Regions from separate parts of the Homo sapiens genome. Here regions 2, 3, 4, 5, 6 and 7 are each linked to region 1. The links are contacts of gene promoters, found by promoter capture Hi-C in blood cells and fetal thymus (Javierre and others, 2016). All regions are on one chromosome and are shown on one strand. Each heading gives the region's core, a stretch centred on a gene start or on the middle of the fragment in contact. The rest is flanking DNA. Distances are from core to core; before and after follow the strand shown. Region 1 holds the start of TNFSF8 (TNF superfamily member 8). Region 2 holds the start of LOC105376231 (a long non-coding RNA gene). Region 3 has its middle 41 kb from the start of TEX48. Region 4 has its middle 61 kb from the start of TNFSF15. Region 5 has its middle 45 kb from the start of TNFSF15. Region 6 has its middle 28 kb from the start of TNFSF15. Region 7 overlaps TNFSF15 (TNF superfamily member 15).

Region 1 (3,653 bases), core at 417-2,916:
AATTTATCTCTTGATGTCTCTTTCGTCTCCAGGATCTATGCTTTTACAGACTCACTGGGAGGAAATATCCAGACCAAATCCTAAAGCCTGATCTAATTTGGGAGATGCTCAGAAGTTTTGGTTCTATGCAAGAACAGCAGTGGTAATAATCCAAGCTTGGCTTTAGACACAGGACGTTTCCTTAGGGGCATCTGGGATCTCTGCTGGCTCAAAGTGATGCGCTGCAGACAAAAAGTGAGCAGAAAGGAAAGGAGGTGCTATGCAGAATGAGCTTCTTCCACGGTGATACCAAATGGAGCTTTCAAAGGCCCACATCTGGAGGCAGCAGCTATGCAGTGATTAACATTTTAAACGGTATTTTGAAATGGAGATCATTAGTAACCACAGATGTGATCTGACTCTGTCCCCCAGGTAATCTGTCTATTGTATCTAAATTCCAGACTTAGCCCAGTAGACAGCTTGGGATGTTTAACAGGAATTGTCCAACACCATCCCCAAATCTATTTTTATTCATGGAGTACTCTGACATCATCTCGCTTGGTCTTCCTGATGACTGTAATGCAGATTGGGAACAGAGAAAGCCATAAAGACTTGTATGATGGCCCAAGGCTAAGAAGGGAAAGGGCTGAGACCACACTTCAGGTTTTAGCTTTCAGGTGCAGTGAAGATTGAATGACTTAGCACGAGCTTTCAGCCAGGCAGGCTGCAAAGTGCACCCAAGTTCTTTCAGTGATCGACACTTGCGACTTAGGTTGAGATAGTTTTCATCCTCCCTGAGCCTCAGTTTTCCCATCTGTAAAAAATAAACATTGCCTGCCTCGGAGGGTGGAGGTGGAAGTGGAATGAAGCCACATGTAACTCCTAGCGCTGTGCCTGAGACAGTAGAGGTTCAATTATAGTAGTCACATACACACACAACACATACATACACAAGACACAACACACCACACACAACACATACATACACACCACACACAACACTTACATACGCACCACACTCGGCATGCATTGCAGATCACAAATGCACACCACACACACACTGCATACATATACCATAGAGAACACACAACACCTACACATACCCCCATACCACAAATACACACACACTACATAGTACACCACGCAGAACACACACAGCCCCCATATTCCACACCACACCATCTCACTGCCAATTCCTTCCCCTCTTCATGAGTTTTACGGCAGGTCCAGGTTCATCTGCCAGTTTAACAGATCCCAAAACTTCTGCAGGAGTGTTTGTTCAAAAGATTGATATTTCCAGATTCCTGCTTTCTGACAGTATCTTTGAACCCCAAATTTCATACTGCCATGAGCCAGTCCCCCTTTGGAGAAATATCTCCATTTGTGTGCCCTTTTTCCCCCAGGGAACCTGCAGCATGTCCCTTTTTCAGCAGTAGCCTATCAAACCGAACCCTTTGGAGTTATTACACTGCAGTCCGAGGGATCCGGCCTCCCTGAGACCCAGCAAGGACTCATTATCTGGGGAGGTCTTCTGAGCCACAGGCCTCGCTGAAAGAAGGTGCAGCTTCTTGAACAGGAAGGCGTTTTGTGGCAGAGTCTAAACGAAACAGAAGTTGCTTTGTGTGTGCGCACGCATGCACACACACACACACACACACACACATACACACACACAGTCGGGGAACCGTCATTTTCCTACGCGCCCTCTGACATCAGCCACCTTCTCTGTAGCTAGTTTCTCTGCACACAACTTAATCCCTGGCAATGAAAAATGAACCTCTCCCCCACCCTTGCTGCCGCCTCTCGCCTCACGCCCCCAGAGAAGAGTTTCTCCACCAGGCAGCAGGTGAAGGTTTTTTTCCAAGTCACATGATTCAGGATTCAGGGGGAGAATCCTTCTTGGAACAGAGATGGGCCCAGAACTGAATCAGATGAAGAGAGATAAGGTGTGATGTGGGGAAGACTATATAAAGAATGGACCCAGGGCTGCAGCAAGCACTCAACGGAATGGCCCCTCCTGGAGACACAGCCATGCATGTGCCGGCGGGCTCCGTGGCCAGCCACCTGGGGACCACGAGCCGCAGCTATTTCTATTTGACCACAGCCACTCTGGCTCTGTGCCTTGTCTTCACGGTGGCCACTATTATGGTGTTGGTCGTTCAGAGGACGGTAAGTGGACTCCTCTTCCTCCCTTTCCTTTTCTTGTTGTTTTCCCGAGAGAAAGAGCCCTGGGAACAAATGATATTCGTTTGTTGGTTAAGAGCACAAAATAAAATTAAATAAATAAACTCTCTCTCTCTATATATATATATATACTATAGTATATACTGTATAACGTAATACACTTATGTTACATAATATATATTATATTATACAGTATATATTATATATATATATATATATGAGAAAGGGAGAAAAGAAAGAGGAACTTAACTCTCTAAAATAATTTGGCTTGTTGAGAAAAATATTGTTAGACCATCATCTTAAAACTTTGCAGATCTGTCTGAGCAAAACAGTGGAGGGGAGCTATTGGCCTTTTAAAGTTAAGATTTAAATCTTAATGAGCCAGAGACCCATATCAAGGAAGGAAGCAATAGAGAAACCTGATAACACATTTGCACAAGTTGTTATCATGTCTTCAAGGACTTCAGACTGGATTCTGAGGTTCTATATCCTAAGTCTGAGTGTCCTGGAGGTTTCTGAGGCCTCACCCATTGCCAAGAGTTTTGTTTTTGCTTTTGTTTTATACAAGGAGCTAAGTTTCAGAGGCCAAGGTCTAGAAGGAAAGGAGGCGAAAGAGAAGACCATGGCTTCTTAGAGCTTTGGACATTTTGGTGTTAAAGCCAGCAAGACAAATCGAAAGCTTCCTCTTAAGCCACAACTTTGAAGAAGTTAGGGCGTCACAAAAAAAAAAAAAAAAGAAACAGCACATAGAAGCAGAAAGTTGAAAGGTTTTTAGCACCTGTTCTCTCTGATGTTCCTCACAATACTAAGCAATCGTTGGGTACACACTGTACAGGGTCAGACTGTCTTCGGAGATTTACTTTGAAGTAAATGGTAAGATTTGTTTCTGAAAACAGAAGAGGAGGAGAAAGAGGAAGCTTCTTCATATTTTAGAAAATTGGTGTTTACAGAGAATCTACCAGTATATATTATATAGAAAATGCTGTAGTAATAGCATATATTGCTCATGAATTTTTTGATGAAGTTGTTAATGGGTAATTTAAGAGCTGCACCCACCCACATGACCTGCCAAAGTGAGAATATTTCTGTTTCTTACTTCATAGTGCCTACTTTTCGTGGTATTATAATCCTGCTGAATTTATTCTGGTTTTTCTTCAGTTTTCTTAGGCCAAGTACTCTATAGCTTATCAATTGCTGGAAAGAACTAGGCTTTAAAAGGCTTTGATATCTATTTCTCAAGTGTCATCAAGCTTTGAAATTAAATGGAAGCTTTGAAGCTCATATCTCTACAAAAGTGAAAAGAAGGAGTTGCAAATATTTGATTTAGATAGTGGAATTCTTAAAACTCATAATTTAATGGCTTATCTACATCTATTAAGTATAATAATCTTGAAAACACTTTAGGACATCTTTTCTTCTGCAGGGGCTCTGCAATTTCTGTAATTCTAATTTGGAGTGAACCAAGGGTATGTCATTTTATAGCAATGGCC
Region 2 (3,653 bases), core at 768-3,267, 230 kb after region 1:
AATGAAGATGGAGTAGGCACAGGCACCCGTTAGTACCTGGAATGACTGCAGGTCAGTAACCTCAGACACGTGCAACATAGCTGAACTCTTATCACTGCCCCACGGTAGGTATTTATTCCCCCCAAATGATGATAAGTCAAATCTGAACACAGATGTAGGTAGTAGGCTAGCAAAGCTTCTAGGGTAGCTTAGAAGTAGGGAGCTGGGGAGAATAGATTCCCCTCCAGGAAACGCAGAGAGAGAAGCCCGGGATCCCAGAGCAGTGGTAGCACACAGGATAAGCAGAAGCCATAGGAAGCCTGCCGGGAGGGAGGGTGTCATGAAAAACGGTTTGGGCCAGAAAAGCAGCCTCCAGGCTGAAATACATAGGAAGGTTTATGTTAACATACCCCACCATCATCCTTTACCCACCAACAATGCCAAATAGAATTGGATTATACTTACCTATATACCATTAAAGGATAATTGCTAGAAGAGCACATAATCATAACACTCACTGAAATATCAAAGAATTGCATATCAATGATTTAGCTCATTAATTTGTGAGAGAACTAGTAGGACGTCACATCTAGTTGCAAGGATAATTCCAAGAACCACATATACACAAGCAAGAAATACTGAAATGAATAAAGATGCAAAACTGGTTTATTCCACAGGAGATGTGGTAAGACAATTGTATTACCACCAGAAAATGTATTTGCATATCTACGGACAAGAACCATTTGCATCACTCTCAGTCATCTACAACTTACAGTTCTGAAACAGTTCAAAGGCAACGAAAGGCCCAGAGGCCCCATAGAAACACCTAGTTTTCTGATGAAGACACCCAGTCATCTTTTCGGTCCATTTCAAAGTCATTCACCATTTTTCCTACAATATCAAGATCTTATCCCAATCACCTTATGTCCTCACTCTCAGTTGTCCATGGGAGCATGGGAATGGACAGAACTTTCCAGGAAGTGATATGGCCTATCCTGGAGCTAGGGAAAATGAAAGTGAGCAGTAAGAAGTGGGCATGAAATATAGAATCCTTGAGCACAAAAAGACCTCATACCAAAGACTTTATTTTACAGAAGCAGAAATAGACCAGAGAGGAAAGGGGATTTTCCTAAAGACACAGAGCAGAGTGGACATGACACCTCCCCTTCTATAGCACACACTTTTTAAGGCAGAGGGGCTGAAAAATGGAGGGTACCAAGGGATTACTTATTCTCTCTGGTCTAGGGAGAGTGACTACCAGAAACCTCTCCCCTAAGATGTGTTCTTTACCTTCCTTGAGCCACATCTACAAAACAGGGGTGGTACTCACACCTCCCTCACTGTGCATTGTCAGGTTTAAATGGGACAGGTTTAGATAGAATGCCTATCCCATAGCAGGTGCTTCATAGACATCATTTTCTCTCACCCTCCTGAGTAGCTGTGTGACCCCAAAGAAGAGACAGGGGTCATTCTGCTTTCACTTGGCCGGGGGTTACAATCATACAAAAAAGACTGTGGCTTCTTACCCACGATGAGTCATATGCTGCTTTCCATCTCAGTTTCAATTCATCTGGAGACAATTCTGATGATTTCAGACCCCGGGCTCTTTCAGCCCCAAGGCCTCAGGCCACTACCACATTTCCTCTGCCAAGCTGCCCCCTTATAACAAATTTGAAGAAAACACAGAAAAAGAGGAGAAGACAAAAAAAAATTAAGTATAAAAGTTTCCCCCCCATTCTCCAGGAGTCAGGTGGTGGGTGGGTGGGTGGAGACATGGCCAGGCCATGGTGGGAAGAGCCCCAGTGAATTATACCCTTGGTGCAGGGAACCCACAAACAGAGACACTGGCCTTGTTTCCCATCACTGCGAAGCCATCATGACCTTCAAACAGCTTGCAGGGCGGGGCCCTTCACATCTTCTGAGTCCTGATATGACTGAGCATCCATTATATAACCATGTTGTGAATAACTTGGTCTCAGTCCTCGACCACAATCTCAATTTCGGGGCATCCCTGATCTCTCTCTGCAGAGAGATTCAGAAGAGGCCCCAGAGATAGTAAAAGTTGGGGGATGGTGGGAGTTGTTTTTTGCTGTTGTCTTATTCCGATTCACACCACCATGTGATAATGGGACCTTTCCCTTTCTCTGGGAGTGAACCTTGCAAAACCACCCAAAGTCAGAGCAGGAAGGGACCCCCAAAGCTCCTGGGATTTAGTTCTCCACCTTCTACCGGGTGAAATGGCAAACCTAATAAAGGCAAAATCCTGGCTCTTCCAGAACTGATAAAAATGTAGACCCTGCCAGGCACAGTGGCTCACACCTATAATCCCAACACTTTGGGAGGCCGACGTGGGTGGATCATCTGAGGTCAGGAGTTCGAGACCAGCCTCACCAACACGGCGAAACACTGTCTCTACTAAAAATCCCAAATTTAGCCAGGTGTGGTGGTACACGCCTGTAATCCCAACTACTCAGGAGGCTGAGGCAGGAGAATGGCGTGAACCCGGGAAGTGGAGCTTGCAGTGAGCCGAGATTGCACCACTGCACTCCAGCCTGGGTGACAGAGCGAGACTCCATCTCTAAATAAATAAATAAATAAAATCTTCAATGGAACCTTTGTGAAGCTCAACACATCTTCAATTAACATGCTGAGGATTGTAGAACCATATATTGCATGTGGGTAGCCAAATCTGAAGTCAGTAAATGAACTAATCTGTAAGTGTGGTTATGGCAAAATCAATAAGAAGCGAATTGCTTTGACAGGTAACACTTTGATTGCTCAATCTCTTGGTAAATATGGTATCATCTGCACGGAAGATCTGATTCATGAGATCTATACTGTTGGAAAATGCTTCAAACAAGCAAGTAACTTCCTGTGGCCCTCCAAACCATCCTCTCCAGAAGGTGGAATGAAGAAAAAGACCACCCATTTTGTAGAAGGTGGAAATGCTGACAACAGGGGGGACCAGATCAACAGCCTTCTTAGAAGAATAAATGAAGATGTCTACCATGATTATTTTTCTAATCTGGTCAGTTAATAAACAGTACCTGCTCTTGAATTGAAAAAAAAAAAAAAAGGAAAACTCAATTATCAACCTTAGTTTTATCTCCTTTAAAATTTGTATCTTATTTAAAAAATATATTATCAGAAGCTCAAAGAACCATGAAGCCTGGGTTAAAATGCAGTAAGCCGGGATCATGCCACTGCACTCCAGAGCCTGGGCAACAGAGCGAGACTCTGTCTCAAAAAAAAAAAAAAAAAAAAAAAAAAATGAATTCTTAAAACTTTTTCTGGCTGAGCACAGTGGCTAACACCTGTAATCCCAGCACTTTGGGAGGCTGAGGTGGGTGGATCACTTGAGGTCAGGAGTTCAAGACCAGCCTGATCAACATGGTAAAACCCTGTCTCTATTAAAAATACAAAAAAAAAAAAAATTAGCCAGGCATGGTGGTGGGTGCCTATAATCCCAGCTACTCAGGAGGCTGAGGCAGGAGGATGCCTTGAGCCTGGGAGGCAGAGGTTGCAGTGAGCCAAGTTCATGCCACTGCACTCCAGACTGGGTGACAGAGCAAGACTTAGTCTCAAAAAAAAAACAAACAACAACAACAACAAAACTTTTTCCTTGGCCTTCTCTCTTGCTGACAAGTTCTATAGTACTTAGAAATTGCCCAAGA
Region 3 (3,653 bases), core at 513-3,012, 210 kb after region 1:
ACTCCTGGACTCAAGCAATTCTCCTGACTTGGCCTCCCAAACTGCAACAGGCATGAGCCACTGCACACGGCTGATGAGCTTTTTATACAAGCAGAATCATGAAATATGAGATTTTTGTGACTGACTTTTTTCATGTAGCATAATGCTTTCAAGGTTCATCCATGTTATGGCATGTATCAGTACTTCATTCCTTTTTATGGCCAAATAATATTCCATTTGGTGGATATACTACTTTTTCCAGTCATCGGTTGATGGACATTTAGGTTGCTTCTACTTTTCAGCTATTATGAATAATGCTGCTATGAATATTCATGTGCAAGTTTTTATACAGACAGACATTTTCAGTTCTCTTGGTTACATACCTAGGAGTAGAATCACTTGGTGATATAGTAACTTATGTTTATTTTAACATTTTAAGGAACTGCCAGATGGTTTCCAGCACTTTGCATATTTTCACATGGTATCATCCCACATCTGCTTTTTCCACTCACTGTGTATGTTTTGGAGATTCCTCCAATTTAATACTTTGCTGTCATTTATTTATTTTGATGGTGGTACAGAGTACCATTTGTGTGAACAAACCACCATTTATTCCCTTTCCCCTATTGCTGGATATTTAGATTCTTCCCAGCTTTCCATTACCATAAATAACACTGCCACAAATGGAGTTTCAAAGCTTTCCATCTATGGACCAAATCTGCAGAGCAGGAGAGCCTCACAGACCACAGAGTAGCTACTGCTAGCTGACAACCCTCTCAAAACTCTTGGGATGATGGTTCTAACTTGTGGGTAGAGAGTTGGAGTGCATGAACTAGAGGGATGCATCGGAAGATGCCCGAAACATAACTAAAGCTCTGAGACCACAGCATGGTTGTGTATAATTATTCCCAGTCATTTGCTGCACTCCCTGGAAGAGATCACCGTGGCTGCCCTGCTTGGCTTGGCTGTGATTGGTGTGGCCTCAGGATATAAGCAGTAGTGATGTATGCAACACGGGAGCAGGAGTCTTGGAGCCAACCCTGTCACTCCCCTCTGCCATGCGACAGGAGCAGCACAGCCCAGATGAGAGCTGCATCCTCAGCCTGGATCTCAGAATAAAAAGCCCATGGAGCAGAGCCACAGTTGGCCCACAGGGACCTACAGAGTGAGCCAAACACACTCGCAGTGTTGTAAGTCTCTGAGATACTGGTGTTGCAGCACAACTGAACAAAATCTCATGGGAGAAGTCTCTTCTTTATCATCATCCCAACTGAACTCTCTTCAGTTTTGACCTAGGCATCCACCTGCCTAATTTTTAAACCCTTTTAGGCATCATTCAAACTAACGTGCATTTGCCATAGACTCTGTATATGACCCAGTCCAGAACTTGGGGTTGAAAAGCACAAGGAATATAATAATAGCTAGTGATCCTGAGAGCCTGCTCTGGGCCAGCTGCTGCAACAGGCACTTGTGCAGATAGAGTGTCAGTTGTCCTCGTGTTACCCGAAGGAGGCAGGCATTACAACTCTCCCCAATTCATTGATGAGGAAATTGATGTGCCAAGGTGTTTAATAACAAGACTAAGGTAATACTTGATCTAGCAAGAGGCATTTGGAGGAACTGTACCCAAGCACGCTGACTCCTGTATCCTATAAGTCACACCGTTTTCATCCAGTGAGCTTGCAGACGTGCAGTGAGAAAATGTTCTTCCATCATGCCACCACTGTTTGGGGGGCATAGAGCACATGCCAGCCTCTGTGCCAGGACTGGGCGAAAGTAAGCCAGACAGACACAAATCCTACAATTCTTACCCTGAGGGAGACGAAAAGAGAGGAAGAAAATATTTTCCTCCACTGGTTTTTGTTTTTTATAGTTTCAGGGGGCACATGTACAGGTTACATGGATATATTGTGTAATGGTGAGGTTGGGCTTCTGGTGAACCCATCACCCGAATAGTAAACATTGCATCTAATAGGTAATTTTTCAACCCTCACCCTCCTCCCACCCTTCTGGATTTTGGAGTCACCAGTGTCTATTATTTCCCTCTTTATGTCCATGAGTAACCATTGTTTAGCTCCCACTTATAAGTGAGAACACACGGTATTTGATTTTCTGTTTCTGAGTCATTTCACTTAGGATAATGGCCTCCAGCTCCATCCATGTTGCTGCAGAAGATGTGATTTCATTCTTTTTTATGGCTGTGGGGGGAAAACATTTTTAACTAATTACATCTTATTTATAAGAAATATCTAGAATAGGCAAATCATAGAGACAGAAAGATGAGTGTTTCCCGGGGTATGGAGGATGGGGAGTGACCGTTTAAAGTGTATGGGGTTTCCTTTTGAGATGATGAAAATTTCTGGAACTAGATAGCAGTGATGGTTGAGCAACACTGTGAATGTACCGAACGTCACAAATAGCAAATTTTATGCACGTTTCAGCACAATGAAAATAAAACTAATTGTATAAATGTGTATCGTTGCAATAAGTGCTGTAGGGAAAGTACAGGGAGCTGTCAAGCCACATGACAGGGAGGCCTGCACTCATCTGGGGTATCAGGGATGCTTCTCTGAGGAAGCAACGCCAGCTCCTACCCCACAGGGTTGTGTGTGCCTCCATGCAAGACCCAGCAGAGGTCAGCCCCAGTGTGTTGTGCCCTCGTGCACACTGTAAACTCCCTTCACAGCAGTTACCTCACTGCATCATTGTTTGTTTTTTGTGTAATCCTTTGACAAAGAGTCATTCACCTACTAGAAAGCAGAGTCCTTCATTCTTTCAATCACCAGGTGGTTTTCAAGCTCAGAGTCCATGTAGACATCGCTGTAAATACGACTACAGAGTTGCTGCCCTTGCGAGGCTTTAAGCTTAGTGGGGGCGTGGATAACAAGCAAGCAAACCTGTGTGAGCAGATTGTGACTGACAGGGCAGTGAGCAGGGGAAACAGAACAACAGCCATCGCAGGGAGGCAGGTGTGGACAGGCTCCCCAGGAGGAGCCAGCACACAGAGCAGGGAGAAGGCGGCTCCAGGGGAGGAAACAGCAGGACAAAAACCTGGAGGCTGAAAAGAACTGAGCACACTGGGGTGATTAACAGGAGGCTTCCAAGGAGGCACTGGCATGGGAGGAAAGAAACCCATCAAGGCAGAGGGTGAGTGTCTGTCTTTTCCCTGCTGGAAACCGGGCATCTGGCGCGGTGTATGAAGGAAGGGAGGGATGGGGGACCGAGAAGATCTTCTTGGGAGCCCTGAGATCTGGATTCCAGTCCAACCCTTTTCATTTGCATCATGACCTCAAGCTAATCCAAGCAGACACTCGCTGCAGATTCAATCGTTAACAAGAGGGTCACACTCCTGCCCTCAGCAAACTTACATTCTAATGGGAGGAGGAGGGGAAAGAACAAGGAGAGAATCTTCTAGTTACCAAAATCCACCCACAAAAGGAAGAGATGAGCCATCTAAGTGGACCAGGAGAATGCGCGAGTGTAGAGCCTGGTTTCCAAAACCCCATGGGGGACAATCAAAAGTCATTGGATTAGATTCTGTTAGAAAAGATAATAAACCAACTAGACTAGATCTGGTGTCCGGGAAAGGGAAGGACAAGGAGATGTTGCTGAGCCAAGATTGCCCAGAAGTGTCTCCATCTCCTGACCTCTTGGTACAGTGAGCCCCTCCACGG
Region 4 (3,653 bases), core at 318-2,817, 190 kb after region 1:
AAGTGGGTTATTGTCTCTGTGGTTCATTCATTCAAACATTTATTGGATGCCTTCTCTGTGCCAAGCACAGTTCTAATGTCTGGGGATTCACCAGTAAAGAAAACAGAGAGGGAAACTTCAATTTGCCAATTAACAGTTATCTCAGTAATTTCCATGTGCAATAGTCTCTTTCATCTCAGGTTCTTTTGGGTAAAGCCTCACCTTTTCTTTTTCTCTGTTCTGGGTGAGTAAGGAGACTGGTGTGGTGTCACTATGATATTAAAAGATGGGGCCTCTGATCTATGCTCTGGCCTCTGGGTCCTCACACATGACTGACAGATGCCAGGCCTGATATGGACCTGTGTTGTCCTCCCTGGGTGACTCAGCCCCGCCTCAGCTCTGGCTAGCCCTGAAGGTTCTGCTGGGCCTCAGTCACATACTCCACTGGGCCTATGAGAAGGGTACCCATGCTAAGCCTCTGCCACAATCTCCTCCCCAGGAAGAGTGCCCCCAGGATGGATGCAGGAATTGTCTGGATGCTTCTCACTCCATGGAGGAGCAGCCAGGACCAAGACTGCTCCCCGCCCAACAAGTGGTACCACATCTGGCTCTGCAGCTCTGCCTCTGTGCTTCTGAAAGTGCTGCCTCTTCTCTGCACCACCCTCCTCTCCCTAATTGACATGAGTGACCCAGCAAAGAAGCATCCTCCAGCGACCCAGCACAAACCTCCTCTGCTTGGGTGCTCCCTTCATCTTGAGGAAGGCCTCCCCTTCCAGATATTAGTCCAGACAAGCAGGGTCAGAATGGGACACACACATCTGAGTCTTTGCATCCTCTGACCCTCACCCTAACAAGGTTTTCCCCTTCCTCTCCCAGCCCAATCAGAACATCTCTAATGTGACATCCGCCTTGCTCCTCATGGTCTTGTTGTCTCAGTAGAGGAGAATCCTCTTTACATGGCACAGGAGGCTCTGTGGTCTAAGTTGGCTGAATTTGACTATTTACATAGGAGCTACTGGACCACTAGGAAGCGAGAGTAATCGCTGACAAAAATACATGGTTTAGTCACCAAAAAATAACATTCCTCTACTCCACCCATCTCCAAAAAACATAATTGTACACAGTTCAAATGGCTTAGATCCAAAGCAGGCAATAACGAATGTTGGCAAGGACGTGGAGAAAAGGGAACCCTTGTACACTGTTAGTGGGAATGTAAATTAGTACAACCACTATGGAGAACAGTTCAGAGGTTCCTCAAAAAAACTAAAAATAGAGCTACTGTATGTTCCAGCTGTCTCACTGCTGGGTATATACCCAAAGAAAGGAAATCAGGATATCGAAGTGATATTTGCCCTCCCATGTTTGTTACAGCACCATTCACAATAGCCAAGATTTGTAAGCAAGCCAAGAGTCCATCAACAGATGAATGGATAAAGACAATGTGGCACATATACACAATGGAGTATATTCAGCCATTAAAAAAGAATGAGATTCTGTCATTTGCAACAACATGGATGGAATTGGAGGTCATTATGTTAAGTTAAATAAGCCAGCAGGGAAAGATAAATGTCACATGTTCTCACTTACTTGTGGGATCTAAAATCAAAACAATTGAATTCATGGACATAGAGAGTAGAAGGATGGTTACCAGAGGCTGGGAAGGGTAGTGGAGGTTGGGGGGAAAGTGAGGATAATTAATGGGTACAAAAAAATATAGAATAAATAAGACCTACTGTTTGATAGTACAACAGGGTGACTATAGTCAATGATAACTTAATTGTACATTTTAAAATAACTAAAAGGGTATAATTGGATTGTTTGTAACACAAAGGATAAATGCTTCAGGGGATGGATACTCTATTCTCCAAGATGTGATTATTATGCATTGCATGCCTATATCAAAACATTTCATGTACCTCATAAATCTATATACCTAGTATGAACCCACAAAATTTAAAATTTAAAAAAGATAATTTTTATAGTGATTCATTCCATAAAAATATCTTAAAGGTTGTGTCATAGAGAGGGATTGGTTGGAGATGAAGTGCTATTTTAATTTAGTGATCTGAAATGACATCTCATTATCCTAGGCAAACTAACACAGAAGCAGAAAACCAAATGCCACATATTCTCACTTGTAAGTGGGAGCTAAACATTGGGTACACATGGATACAAAGATGGGAAAGATAGACAGTGGAGACCATAAGAGGGAGGAGGAATAAAGGGAAGCAAAGGCTGAGAAACTACCTCTCGGGTACTATGCTTATACCTGGGTGACAGGATCAATCTACCCCAAACCTGCCCATGTAACAATATACCCATGTAACAAACCTGCACATGTACCCCTGAAACTAAAATAAAAGTTGAAGGCCAGGAACGGTGGCTCACACCTGTAATCCCAGCACTTTGGGAAGCCAAGGCGGGCAGATCACTTGAGGCCAGGATTTAGAGACCAGCCATGGCCAACATGGTGAGACCCTATCTCTACCAAAAATACAAAAAAAAAAAAATTAGCCTGGCGTGGTGGTGCTCACCCGTAATCCCAGCTACTCTGGAGGCTGAGGCACAAGAATTGCTTGAACCTAGGAGACGTAAGTTGCAGTGAGCCAAGATTGCACCACTACACCCCAGCCTGGGCGATAGAGTGAGACTGTCTCAAAAATAAAATAAAATAATAATAATAATAAATAAAATAAAGGTTGAAGAAAAAAGAAAAAAAAAGAAATGGCCTCTCATGCTAAAAAGTAAGAAAATGCTCAAAAGACAAAATGATGGGATTATTTCCAAGGGACCCAGTAGCCAATTAAAAGATCATCCAATGGCCAAAGCTGGAACCATTTGAGCAACCAAATCAATAAGATAGTATTGGATTATGGCCCAAAGTATAAAATAAATATCCATGAGTCTGTGTTGATATAAACAAAAAAGAGTGACTAAGTTAACAAAAGGAGAAGAGACAAATCTGCTATACCAAAAAAAATACCAAATAGTTTATGCAGATACCATACCCTCCAGGAGCTGGAGTGCAGTGGCACAATCATAGCTCACCACAGCCTTGACTTGCCAGGCTCAAGCAATTCTACCTCAGCCCCACAAGCAGCTGGGACCACAGGCATGCACTGCCATGCCTGGCTAATTTTTTCAAAAATTTCTTGTAGAGACAGTGTCTCACTATGTTGCCCAGGCTGGTCTTGAACTTCTGAGCTCAAGCGATCCTCCCGCCTCAGCCTCCCAAAACGCTGGGATTTACAGGCATAAGCCACTGCTCCCCACCTAGTATTAATAATTGTAATGATAATCCAAAGAAATATTTTAATACTTTTAAAATCTTAAAGCCACATGAAGTTAAAATTTATATTTCTATATATATTGTTGTGGCGGAAAGGTATAAGGTGGTCAATTCAAAAAACTTTCAAACAGAAAAATATATACTATATTAGGAAAAAGTCTGTAGAAGAAGTAGAATGAGAAAAAAGAAAAATAGAGATTTGCCAACAGTTTGAGTTATGTTTTAGGTGGAGGATGGTGGCTATTACATCACAATGGTATTTACATTCCATTGGGTGTATTTTAAGAGATGATGCAACAGCTTTATTTTTTATGTCAATATTTACAATGGGCCAGAAGTTGTATTCTTCATATTCATGTACACCTGTGATTTTAAAAAAAAATCA
Region 5 (3,653 bases), core at 647-3,146, 170 kb after region 1:
GTTTACATGAATGTGAGATGTTTACGTGAATGTGAGATGCTTTGAAAATGCACCAGTCAGTGGGCAAGATCTCAACCAACATGGCACGCAAAAAGAGAGAACACAAAATCAACAAGTCAGATCTCATGGGCGTCTGCTTATCGTTCCACCAGGGCAACAGGTGTGACACTACTGGACACTTGGAGGGTCTCACCCCATGCTTCTTTTAAGAATGTGAGCTGAAGCTGATTCCGTTATTTAAAGGTATAGGTTTGTGTTGTTTATACAGTATTCCCAGTAAACAGAGGACAAAGTTGCTCAACTAAAGAAACAGCAGGCCAGGGGCAATGCCCCACATTTAATCCCAGCTCTTTGGAGGGCCAAGGCAGGGGGATTGCTTGAGGTCATGAGTTCAAGACCAGCCTTGGCAACATACTGAGACTACCATCTTAAAAAAAAAAAATCAGAAAGAAAGAAACAGCAGCCCCATTGGATATAAAACTGGCTGTGCTGCCCATGGGTTTGCTCTTCAAAGCTAAGCCTTTCAAAGGGGTTTTCATGGGCTGGCTTTAAAAGCTCACCCTGGAGCTGAGATCATGCCACTGCACTCCAGCCTGGGCGACAGAGTGAGACTTCGTCTCAAAAAATAAATAAATAAATAAAAGCTCACCCTGGTTAGATGGGATTCTACCATATAAAAAAAAAATAAACAAGGGCCGAGCACGGTGGCTCACGCCTGTAATCCCTGCACTTTGGGAGGCCAAGGCGGGTGGATCACGAGATTAAATCAGGAGATTGAGACTATCCTGGCCAACATGGTGAAACCCCGTCTCTACTAAAATACAAAAAAAAAAAAATTAGCCGGGTGTGGTGGTGTGCACCTGTAGTCCCAGGAGGCTGAGGAAGGGGAATCGAACCCTGGAGGCGGAGGTGGCGGTGAGCTGAGATCATGCCACTGCACTCCAACCTGGTGACAGAGTGAGACTCCCTCTCAAAAGAGAAAAAGAGAGAGAGAGAGAAAGAAAAAGAAAGAAAGAAAGAGAGAGAGAGAAAGAAAGAAAGAAAGAAAGAAAGAAAGAAAGAAAGAAAGAAAGAAAAAGAGAGAGAGGGAGGGAGGGAGGGAGAGAGAGAAGAGAGGAGAGGAGAGGAGAGGAGAGGAGAGGAGAGGAGAGGAGAGGAGAGAAAAGAAAAGGAGAGAAGGCCCTCTCTGGTGCAGAGATGTGGGATGAACTCTAAGAATCTCCCTCACCCAATGCAGCCTCTTTCGACTTTCTTTACCTGTCTAGAGACCAAGTTCAGGACCATCTGTAAAATGAGCATAAGGTGTGGTACCTGCCCTGCCTGCCACTAAGAGGCCTGCCTGAGCTCACATGACTGAAAAGCCCTCACTTGACAAAAAAGCTCAATAAAGATGTGCAAACCTGTTGAGGTGGGGCATGAGGTGAATTTTGAAGGCTATGTTGAGTCAAAAAAGAATGGGCACTTCAGTTGTGGAAACAGTGTGAAAAATATAGGAACACAGGGAGAGGAGTTGGCTATTTAGGAAAGAAGACGAGTTTACTGGGGAGAGAGACTGGCATAGAACAGCAACAGCCAGTGAGACCACAGTGGTAGGTGGAGCTGGGCTGTGGACCTCCTGAGGCTTTATTGTGAGGGCTGTAAGAGTCACTGTATATTGTTAGGCAAAATGGTGCTTCTAGGATATCACTTTGCTCTAGTGTGCTTCCTCCCTGGTGACTCGCTTGTGTTTCTCATTTATTGTAGCATTTTACTTACCTCTGTCTCAAAGAGGACAAAAAAGATGAGGAGATTAAAAAGAAGAGTTATTTCAATGAGTATTCACTGAGTACCTGTTGCATGCCAGACATTATTTTGGAAGTGCTGGAGACATCATAGCGAGGAAGACAGACAAGGTCTTTGGTCTCATGAAGATAATATTCTACTGGGGGAAGCTGGTAACAAACCAAGTGCTACATGGAAAACAAAAATTCAGTGATGGCATAGCTAGATAGAATTATATAACAATAGATAGATAGATAGATAGATAGATAGATAGATAGATAGATACCAACATGGATAGACCTCAAAAATACGTTTATTTTGTTGTTTTTAAAGCAAATTATAGAACAATATGTATAGGATAATAACACTACATTTTTTTCAAATACACAAAAAATAACATATATCATTTATGGGTAGTTACATATGTAGTAGAAGTATAAAAATAGACATAAAATTTGTGAATGTTATTACCTTTGGAAAGGAAAGAAGGGAAAAGGCTACAAAATTTTACTTCTTTAAAAAAACAGCATGAAGTAAATATGACAAAGTGTTGTTTATTAATTTTGGAGAGTGTGTAAAATGTCTGCTGTGGAAAATAAAGCTGAGGGGAGGAAGTAAAAAAAATTCAGTGATGGAATCAGGAGTGATGGGGTGGGTAGAAAGGAACAATTGTTGTTGATGATAAAAAGAGAGAGACAATTGCAGGCACAAAGATTAAGTAGCACAGTGGCTTTAAAGTACAAATGAGCTTGAAGTGTTCAAGGAACCAACAGAAAGCTGGTGTGATCCAAGAAGAATATATGGGAGGGAATGCAGTAGGAGATGAGGTCGGAGAAGAAGACAGAGGCCAGATCATGGAGGGCTCTGCATGAGGAGAAAGAGTTGAGTTTAAGCCAATTAGAATCCACTAAACATAAGCAAGGTAGTGACAAAATCTGAGCTATATTTTCAAAGATCAATCTACCTGGAGTTTAGAGAACAGATTGGAGAGGCACAAGAGAGGAGAGAAGGACACCAGTTGAAAGATTGTTTGGATGAACCAAGGCAAGAGAAAGTGGGGCTGTAATCTTTATATGTAGATTCAAGAGAAATTGATTATTTTAAACTATGTTTTTCAACTGTATTCCACATGATTTAATACTGGATTGATTGTGGGGATCGAGGAAAAGAGATGAAGGTAACAGCTAATTTGGGGGACTTTAGCATTTGGGTAGCTGTTGTTGTCATTTACCAAGGTGAGGTCAACAGAAAGAGGTCTTGGGTATAGGGAGAATCCAGAGCTATGCTTTCACTATGTACATTTGGGGATGCCTATGCAATAGCCAGATGGATGTGTCAGGCAGACAATGGGCTCTATAAGTCTACAGTTCCAGGGAAAAGTCAACACCAGCCAATATGCTTGGGAGCCATCAACACAAAGATATTTGTAAAGCAATGGGACTGATGAGGTCACCTAAGAGACTGTACAGATATAAATGGAGAAAGAGGTTCTTGACTACTCTGAGGCATTCCAAGACTTAGAGGTTGAATAAAAGAGAAAGCAAAGAAAACTGAAAAGTGGCAGCCAATAAAGCAGGGAAAAATCCAGGAGCGTGGGAAGTCGAAAAGCCAAGGAAAAGGGAGTGTTTCAAAACATGATGCTGTTGGGAGTCCACACAAGGTGACAGCCAAGAAGTGACCACCAGATTTGATAAAAAGAAGATCATTGGCAGACGAACTTCAATGTGGTGGTCACTGCGTAACAAATCAACAAATGGTTAAGGCTTAAAAGAACAATTTATTATCTCTCACGATTCTGTGGGATGACAGATTGTTCCTCTGTTCCATCCAGTGTCATATGGTGTGCTGGAATAGTTACAGTCATCTGGAATTGATCGGATTGGAATATCCAA
Region 6 (3,653 bases), core at 509-3,008, 150 kb after region 1:
CTCTATTTCTTCTCTTCTACATTTAAAGAAGCAACACCAAATTATAGAAATTATAAGATCATAATAGAATGGCACATGAAGGTCTGGAGACTTGGTTATTCATTCATCTAACTCTTACTTAATGAGGACCCTCAATGCCAAGGGCTACACATGAAATAAACATAGCTACTAAACTCATAAAACTTCCATGCTATTGGGTTGAAGTTGGAGGGGAATGGGGAGGTTTACAATAAAGGAATTACTGTGCAAAAACTTATTGTGATAAGTGATCTAAAGGAGAAAAACAGGCTGTAAAGATAAAGAACAAAAATAGGACCCAATTTCCAAGTCAGTGATTCAGTGAAGGCCTCTCTAAGGCCACTCTGCACAGCGTGTTTGATTTAGTTAACATTTAGACTCATGACTCCATAGCACAATTACTGGCTGATAGCAACTGTGATTCATTCGGTGAATATTGCTAATTACTAGAGCCTTCATGGGCAAAGGACAAGGTGGCTGGGCACTGGCCAACTGCCAGCTGTTTCTGGGCCAAAGCAAACAACTTGTGCCTTAGAATGCACTGGTATGGCTGGTGACAACCCCACCAATCCCTAGAGCTCCACTCCAGCCTCTCAATGGAAAACTTTTCTCCTGCAGCCACTACAGGAAGATCCAACGTTGTCCTTGGCACTCCCTACTGTTTTTCAAGAATGACGCCCAAATAGACTTTGCTTTCCTGTGTGCCAGGAAGTTTTCCTGGTTTTTGCCCTTGTGCTAACAAACATGATCTGACATCATAAGGATAAGGAAAATTACCAGCATGTGTCCCTTCTTTCAAGAGCTCCATGGGGAGGAAAGTATGGTCTGGATGAGAATACCCATTTTACAAAAAGATAAATCAAGGCTCAGAAAGGAAGCCATCATATTCATAGGAATAAAGGGACTGAGCCAGATCTGACCAAATCCAATACCATGCTTCTAGTCCCATGATGCTGCCTTAGGCGTTCAGTCCATGAGCAAAAGGGTCAGAGAGACCCCACTCTGCGAGTCTAGCAAAAATAAATCCCTGTGTTTACGAGTCTGATAAAGGCAGGAATTGAGGAGTGAGGTCTGAATGCTTTGGGATCTGCCCTTCCCTTCTCTCCAGGACACTGTCACACTCTGTCCATCTGCCCATGGGCACTTGTACTTCTGAGGCATCACCATCTTTCACCAAGTGTCCCAAGACAGAACCCTGGGTCATCTTAGGCTGGCCACTCTCCCCATCCCTCACATTTAATCACTCACTAAGGCCAACTCCTGAGTCTCAAATTAGACCCCTTCTTTCCTTCTTTATGTCAATAGCCTCCTCACTGGTCTCCCTGCACCAAGTGAAGCCCACTGAAGTCCATCTGCTCTACAGCAACTACAGTGGTCTTGCTATTACAAAAACAGTTCATAGAACTCTCCTTCTTCGAAAGGCCAGGGTAGCTTCCTATCATCTTTAGAGGGAAATCCAAGCTCCTGGATTTGGCATTCAAAGCCCTTCCTGATCCAGTCCCTACCAACCTCTCTGCTTCATTTGGTTTCCCATGTCCCCTCTGCCTATGTTATAGAGGCAGTGATGTGCTAATAAATGTTGAACATCCGGCTCTCCAAAATAAAGCCCTGATTCGCACCATTTGTTGCTATCTGTGTTGTAAATATTTCCACCATGACCAATTACAAGCAACCAATGTGTTGCCAGTGAGTTCAGAAAGGATGTATTTCAGCCATATGGATACAATAGATATTTACAACCACAAGAGGATAGATAATGGATAATGTAGTAATAACTAAGAAGTGACAAGTTTGGAGTATTTATTACCTTTGTTGTAATATAATTTATATAAATGTAGGTTTATGTAATTTAATTTTATTATGGCTGTGTTTAATGACCAGCTCACAAAACTCCTGGTAATTTAATATTCCCTTCTTGTAAATTGGTACACATTTGCCCTAGCACCCCTGATTAAAGCACTCTGGGTAGAATGCCTGCCCTCCCCTACCCCGTGGTGAACTGCTAGTCATTTCTCAAGACTCTGCTCAGCTGTCCTTTCATCTGCGGAGCCAACCCTGAATGCCTCATGCAGGGACTCTCACAGGAACCCTCCCCATCCCCTGTCTCGGGCTTGTTGTCTGATCGTCTGTCTTTCCCCCATCTGATGGTGTCTTACTCACTTTTAGGAACTGTCATCAGCTGAACTCTAATAAATGTTTGTGGGACAAACTATTCAACATAGTTTTGTATCTGGATTCCTTCCCTATATACATTTGTCTTCCAATTTCCAGTTTTTATTCAATCCTTCCTATTCCCAAGGATGTCACCCAGAGCAAAAACAGGCTTTATATGGGAAGTGGAAGCAGGTTGGGGAAAATGGAAGGGGAAGTTCCAACCCAAATCTGCAAAATGCATTTTAATCATTTATGGTTTTGAATAAATATAAATCCAGTTTACACTCACATCTTCACCCCAGACAAACTTTCCCTAGTGAGGAGAAAGGAGAGGGACTCAGAATGGGAGGACCTAGACCTATCAAGTAGCTGATCGTAGGATGACAACTGGGATTGACCCACAGCTAAACTGGAAGACAGAACTCCTGGGCACCTGCCATGGAACAGGTTTAGGTGGCCACTTCTCATTTACTCAGTTTTTATTCAAGTCTCACAATAATTTTATCAATCAGAAATCATTACCTCCATTTTACAGCTAAATAGACTGAGGGTTGAAGATATGCTGTGACTCTTCCAAAGTCCCAAAGGTAATGAGCTGTGGAGCCAAGATTTAAACCAAGGTCTGGCTGATTGCAAAAACCATGTTGTTAAACACTGTAATAAAACATACTATTCCTCTCTTCCCTGACCTCTTTAAGAGAACAAAGAGAAAAAGAGAGAGTGAGAGAGAAAGGAAGAAGGAAAGGAAAGACAGAAAGAGAGAGAGGGAGAGAGAAAGAAAAAAGAAAGAAAGAGAGAGAGAAAGAGAAGAAGAGGAGGAAAAAAGAAGGGAAGGAAAAGAAAAGAAAGGAATATTCACAAGATTATTGAGAACCTCCTTTGAGGCAAGTACAGCACTAGGTGCTTTACCCTTGTTAACTCATTTAATTATTAATATGGTTTGGGTCTCTGTCCCCACCCAAATCTCATGTGGAATTGTAATTCCCAATGTTGGGGGAGGGACCTAGTGGGAAGTGATTGGATCATGGGAGTGAACTTCTCTCTCGCTGTTCTCATGACAGTGAGTGAGTTCTCACGAGATCTGGTTGTTTGAAAGTGTGTAGCACCTCCCCCTTCGCTCTCGGTCTCTCTCCTGCTCCACCATATGAAGATGTGTCAGCTTCGCCTTCGCCTTCCACCATGGTTGTAATTTTCCTGAGGCCTCCCTAGCCATGCTCCCTGTACAGCTTGTGGAACCATGAGCCAATTAAACCTCTTTTCTTTATAAATTACCCAGTCTCTGATAGTTCTTTATAGCAGTGTGAGAAGAGACTAATACAACTTTATATAGAAGATAAGTATTATTATTCCCATTTTACACCTAAAGAAACTGAGGTTCAGAGAGCTTGAGAAAATTGGCCAGTGTTGCACATCTCATCCACAATAGAACTTAGCTTTCAAAAGCCTTCTTCCTTCTAGGGTCCACATTTCTGACCGACACA
Region 7 (3,653 bases), core at 371-2,870, 130 kb after region 1:
CTGGCACACAGAAGGCACTCACTAAGTGTTTTCTGGATGGAGGGAGGGTTGGAGGGGTGGGAAATGTACTAGATCTCCCTGGGCCATAGACTCACTGTCTATAAAATGAGGAGATTAATACGCTTTCTATATAGCACTATGGTGAGAATTCTGCAAAATGTCCAGAAAGCTGCTGCCATAGAATAGATGCTCAGCAGACATGATTCCCTCCCCCTCCCCCTCCCCACTCCACCTGGGATGAGCCCTCTTATCTCACTCAAGTTGTTTCCTCTTTCCGAAGGATTAGGGATCATGATAATCTCTTTCAGTGCTATCTAGAGAAAAACAGATAGTTGAGATAAAAGTACTTTGTAAATTGCAGACCCCTTATCCCTCAGTGAAGATGCCCTTGCTATAACCTCAGGAAGCACCAGCATACCTGGAAGATATTCACTCCAAAGATCAGGTTGTGGGCAAAGGGAAGGGAAACCAGAGGCAGTGAAGGTGCACTGAGGAAGTGCAGAGGCAGGAAGGGCAAGCAAGCCTGGCTGTGAATCTCAGACATCCAGGCAGCTTGCAGCTGGTAACGGCAGAATCCACTCAACCACCAGGTAAAGTGAACATATCGCTGAGTGCCAGGCCAGCTTGGAGAGCTCCTGCATCCGCACCCAATGGAGCATACACTGCAGACCACACACTGGCTACAAGAGGTCATCTCCCAGCCTGACCCCTCCTTGTAGCTGACAGCAGCAACAAGCTGGGGATGTGAAGTGGGTGGGGCGTAAATTCCATTCCCTCAATCTATTTGCACTCTGAAAGGGCAGAAGTTCAAAAGCCTGAGGAAGCCTAGTGAATGTCTGTCCTTGGGGAAAAGCAGATGCCTCCCGGAGCTCCTAAAGCATCCAAATCTACTCCTTGTGATAAAAAGATACAAGGGTGGCTTCTGTGTACAACTGAAGTCCTAAGACCAAAAAGAGGATGTGCAGAACCAACAATACAGCCTACAATCATATATTGAGCCCAAAGAAATGAGGAAAATGAACCTTATATATGTGGCCTTTCTGAGCCATCACAATAGACCTGGGAGGTAAGAATTATTGTCTGCTTTTATTGACGAGGAAACAGTTCCATTGAGGTCAAGTGACATGCCACAATCAGAGCACCAGGAAATAATGGAGCTGGGATTTCCAAATTTGCTCACCTGCAAACACCAGCATCTTTGCTTTGTACTGTGCTGAATGTTGCACATAAAGCCCTATCCAGGGCACCTTGGAGGATGATGAAATGAAATGACCTCAGAATAAAACATTTCCAGGTTGGCGTTATCCTTGGGCAAGTATAAACAGGCAGAAGCAGAAGGAAGAGACAAAGAGGCAAACATCTGCATATTTCTCCTGGAAGTGCTGGGAGGATGTTTTGGATCATAAAACATTTATGCCTTTGCAATTACAGCATTTATGACAGCAAGAGATGAATATCTCTCCCTGTTTATGAATAGAGATAGAGAGTGACTATAGTACATGAGAGGAAAGGCTATGTGGATCATTAATTAAAATATACTTAGGGGATTTTTCTGGGGAAATGCCAGGAAATCTCAAAGATTATCTTGCTTCAGGCTTGTTCATCTATTGTACACTGAGCTGATGTTTATGAAGCTCCCAATATGTGCCAGGGTCTGTACTTGGTCTAAAGGTTCAGATCCCAAGCCCTCCATGCACTCTTTGACCTTGGACAGTTGCTTGACCTCTTTTCGTGCCATTCTAAGCCATGAAAAGGTGATGCTGACCCCTCCTTTAAAAGTAGCTGGAGTATTAGATGAGGCAAACACATAAATGCCCAATACAGGACCTGGCACCTGGGGAGCATTCCACTAAACTTCAATCTCCTCTTTATGCTTTCTTCTGCCCAATTTAAATAATTAAAGTAATTCCAAAAATACCTATAGTAACAGACCATGGTTAGTTTGAGTCAGGGATTACCAGTCAACATACAAAAAAAAAAACAAAAATCAAATGAGAGGAAAAATTCCCTGACCTACAAGAACTAAGGAGGGTAGGGGAAGAGAAGCACCAGCTGTTTTTTGCTAGGGCTAACATATGCTGGTGGGAGCAAGCATCCCATCTCCCTCTAAGATGCATGCTTATGGACATACACATTTGCTTTTCTGACTCTGGCTCCTGGCTAAGCCTTGCCACTTACAACAAATCTTTCTAGAGCCACAGCTATGCTCCACACAGAGCCTGATGAAGACCTTTAGAGGCCCTCGTACTAAATGACAAACATTTTTAATAGGAACAAAAAGTTGTCTTTCCTAGATTTTTGGATTATAAAACTCTGGCTGAAGTCACTGCATCCTCACCCCCTCTCTGACTCTCTTTGTCTGCCTCTGTCTTCCTGATGCCTGAGAATCTGTGCATTTTGCCAGTTGGATAATCTGGCAAAAGTGCCAGGCACTGACTGAGGCACTAGGAATATAGGTCCCCACCTGTAGGCAGGTTGAATTTTCAGAGCGAGAAAAGTCATAAGCACACAAATAAATAATAAAATTCGATCCTGGATTTCAGCCAGTGGTTTGAAAAGATATGTATGTAGGAATAATCTCATTATCAGACACCATGTCTATTCAATTGGAGGCTAATGTTGCCATGACCAGCACCTCTTAGGAGCCAACACCTCTTCGGTGCCCCCAGAATAACAAGAAGTGATGGAGATGAGTCAGGGCTGGAACACAGAAGACATTGCATTGGCCTGGTGTTCCCAGGAACCATCCTGAGAGCAGGCATTAGGACAGCTGTAATGCATAAACCTTTTCTCAAATAAGCTATTATTCCATCCTCTCAAATTTCTTCCTCATTCATTACTGCTTCCTATCACAATAATTTTCCTCCTGTGATAGACAGAGTTGTTATTAAGAGAAGCAGCAATGGAAGGTTTAGATGTTGTTCTTGGAGAAAGAGTCTCAAATGACGTCCTTCTTGCGGACTCTTGGAATGTTGTAGTCTTCAATATCTGCCAACAGGCTTGGTCACCACCTCCAGATGTTTAGTGGCACACTGGACCATACTTATCCATCCATATATGAAAATAAAATGTGTGCCCAAGTTACAGAAGTCCAGCAGAGCAAACAGGGAAATGTGTCCACAGCTCAGATACATGCTAATGACAATGGGATTCTGAGTCAAAGAGGAATGTTGTAAACTCTTAGCTGAATGTCATCTTAGCCAAAGACAAGCAGGATGTTCAAAATTTCTCAGCAGATAATTAAATAAATCAAAAGAGGCCAACCAGGGCAGGTACCTTTCCTACACCAGAGGATGCAATCAAGATCTCTCTGATTCTCTTTGAGAACTCCACCTTCAGTTTTCTGCCTTGCCAAAGGATCAATTCCTTCAGCTCTGTCAATATCAAGGAAGGCAATAGACTACAGAATAAGTTCATTTCTGGGCTGCTTCTCCACTCCCTCAAGACCATCCAAGTTATTGATTCTGGATAGGTGATCACAGAAATTGGGTTTAGGTTTTCAAAAACTGCTGTACTCATGACTCTGTGCCAAATGCACATAATGTATTCATTTCCCAGCAGAAAGCCTTGATGTTTTCCAACTACTCCCATGTCCTGTTGAGCCTCCTTACATGTCGTATCCATACATACGACACCACATCACAGATGCAGGG

The links. The method cuts DNA at HindIII sites, captures the fragments that hold promoters and counts their contacts. A CHiCAGO score of 5 or more calls a contact.
Region 2: a contact is called between a fragment that was not itself captured here and the fragment with the promoter of TNFSF8 in region 1, in 11 of 17 cell types (activated CD4 T cells, total CD8 T cells, non-activated CD4 T cells and 8 more). The highest score is 22.0, in activated CD4 T cells.
Region 3: a contact is called between a fragment that was not itself captured here and the fragment with the promoter of TNFSF8 in region 1, in 12 of 17 cell types (activated CD4 T cells, non-activated CD4 T cells, total CD8 T cells and 9 more). The highest score is 18.0, in activated CD4 T cells.
Region 4: a fragment that was not itself captured here is called in contact with the fragment with the promoter of TNFSF8 in region 1 in 14 of 17 cell types (naive CD8 T cells, monocytes, activated CD4 T cells and 11 more); the score reaches 19.5 in naive CD8 T cells.
Region 5: a contact is called between a fragment that was not itself captured here and the fragment with the promoter of TNFSF8 in region 1, in 11 of 17 cell types (total B cells, activated CD4 T cells, naive B cells and 8 more). The highest score is 14.9, in total B cells.
Region 6: a fragment that was not itself captured here is called in contact with the fragment with the promoter of TNFSF8 in region 1 in 9 of 17 cell types (total B cells, naive B cells, activated CD4 T cells and 6 more); the score reaches 13.3 in total B cells.
Region 7: a fragment that was not itself captured here is called in contact with the fragment with the promoter of TNFSF8 in region 1 in 6 of 17 cell types (total B cells, naive B cells, non-activated CD4 T cells and 3 more); the score reaches 8.9 in total B cells.

What each region holds. Positions count from the first base shown.
Region 1 is chr9:114,928,604-114,932,256 of GRCh38, reverse strand. TNFSF8 (TNF superfamily member 8) reads left to right here and starts at 1,666. Exons shown (of 4, transcript NM_001244.4): 1 at 1,666-2,148. The coding sequence starts at 1,954. RefSeq lists an enhancer at 2,013-2,572. The HindIII fragment of the contact is 2,687 bases long and covers 158-2,844 here.
Region 2 is chr9:114,695,241-114,698,893 of GRCh38, reverse strand. LOC105376231 (a long non-coding RNA gene) reads right to left here and starts at 3,044. Exons shown (of 2, transcript XR_007061745.1): 1 at 445-3,044. RefSeq lists enhancers at 589-788, 1,774-1,893, 1,904-1,953. The HindIII fragment of the contact is 3,680 bases long and covers 178-3,653 here.
Region 3 is chr9:114,720,915-114,724,567 of GRCh38, reverse strand. No RefSeq gene overlaps it. Among named protein-coding and RNA genes, the nearest start is that of TEX48, 41 kb to the right of the region's middle. The HindIII fragment of the contact is 2,167 bases long and covers 679-2,845 here.
Region 4 is chr9:114,743,038-114,746,690 of GRCh38, reverse strand. No RefSeq gene overlaps it. Among named protein-coding and RNA genes, the nearest start is that of TNFSF15, 61 kb to the left of the region's middle. The HindIII fragment of the contact is 9,237 bases long and covers 1-3,653 here.
Region 5 is chr9:114,759,677-114,763,329 of GRCh38, reverse strand. No RefSeq gene overlaps it. Among named protein-coding and RNA genes, the nearest start is that of TNFSF15, 45 kb to the left of the region's middle. The HindIII fragment of the contact is 4,539 bases long and covers 1-3,653 here.
Region 6 is chr9:114,776,464-114,780,116 of GRCh38, reverse strand. No RefSeq gene overlaps it. Among named protein-coding and RNA genes, the nearest start is that of TNFSF15, 28 kb to the left of the region's middle. The HindIII fragment of the contact is 3,798 bases long and covers 1-3,653 here.
Region 7 is chr9:114,796,701-114,800,353 of GRCh38, reverse strand. All of the region lies in intron 1 of TNFSF15 (TNF superfamily member 15), which reads left to right. Among named protein-coding and RNA genes, the nearest start is that of TNFSF15, 7.5 kb to the left of the region's middle. The HindIII fragment of the contact is 8,771 bases long and covers 1-3,653 here.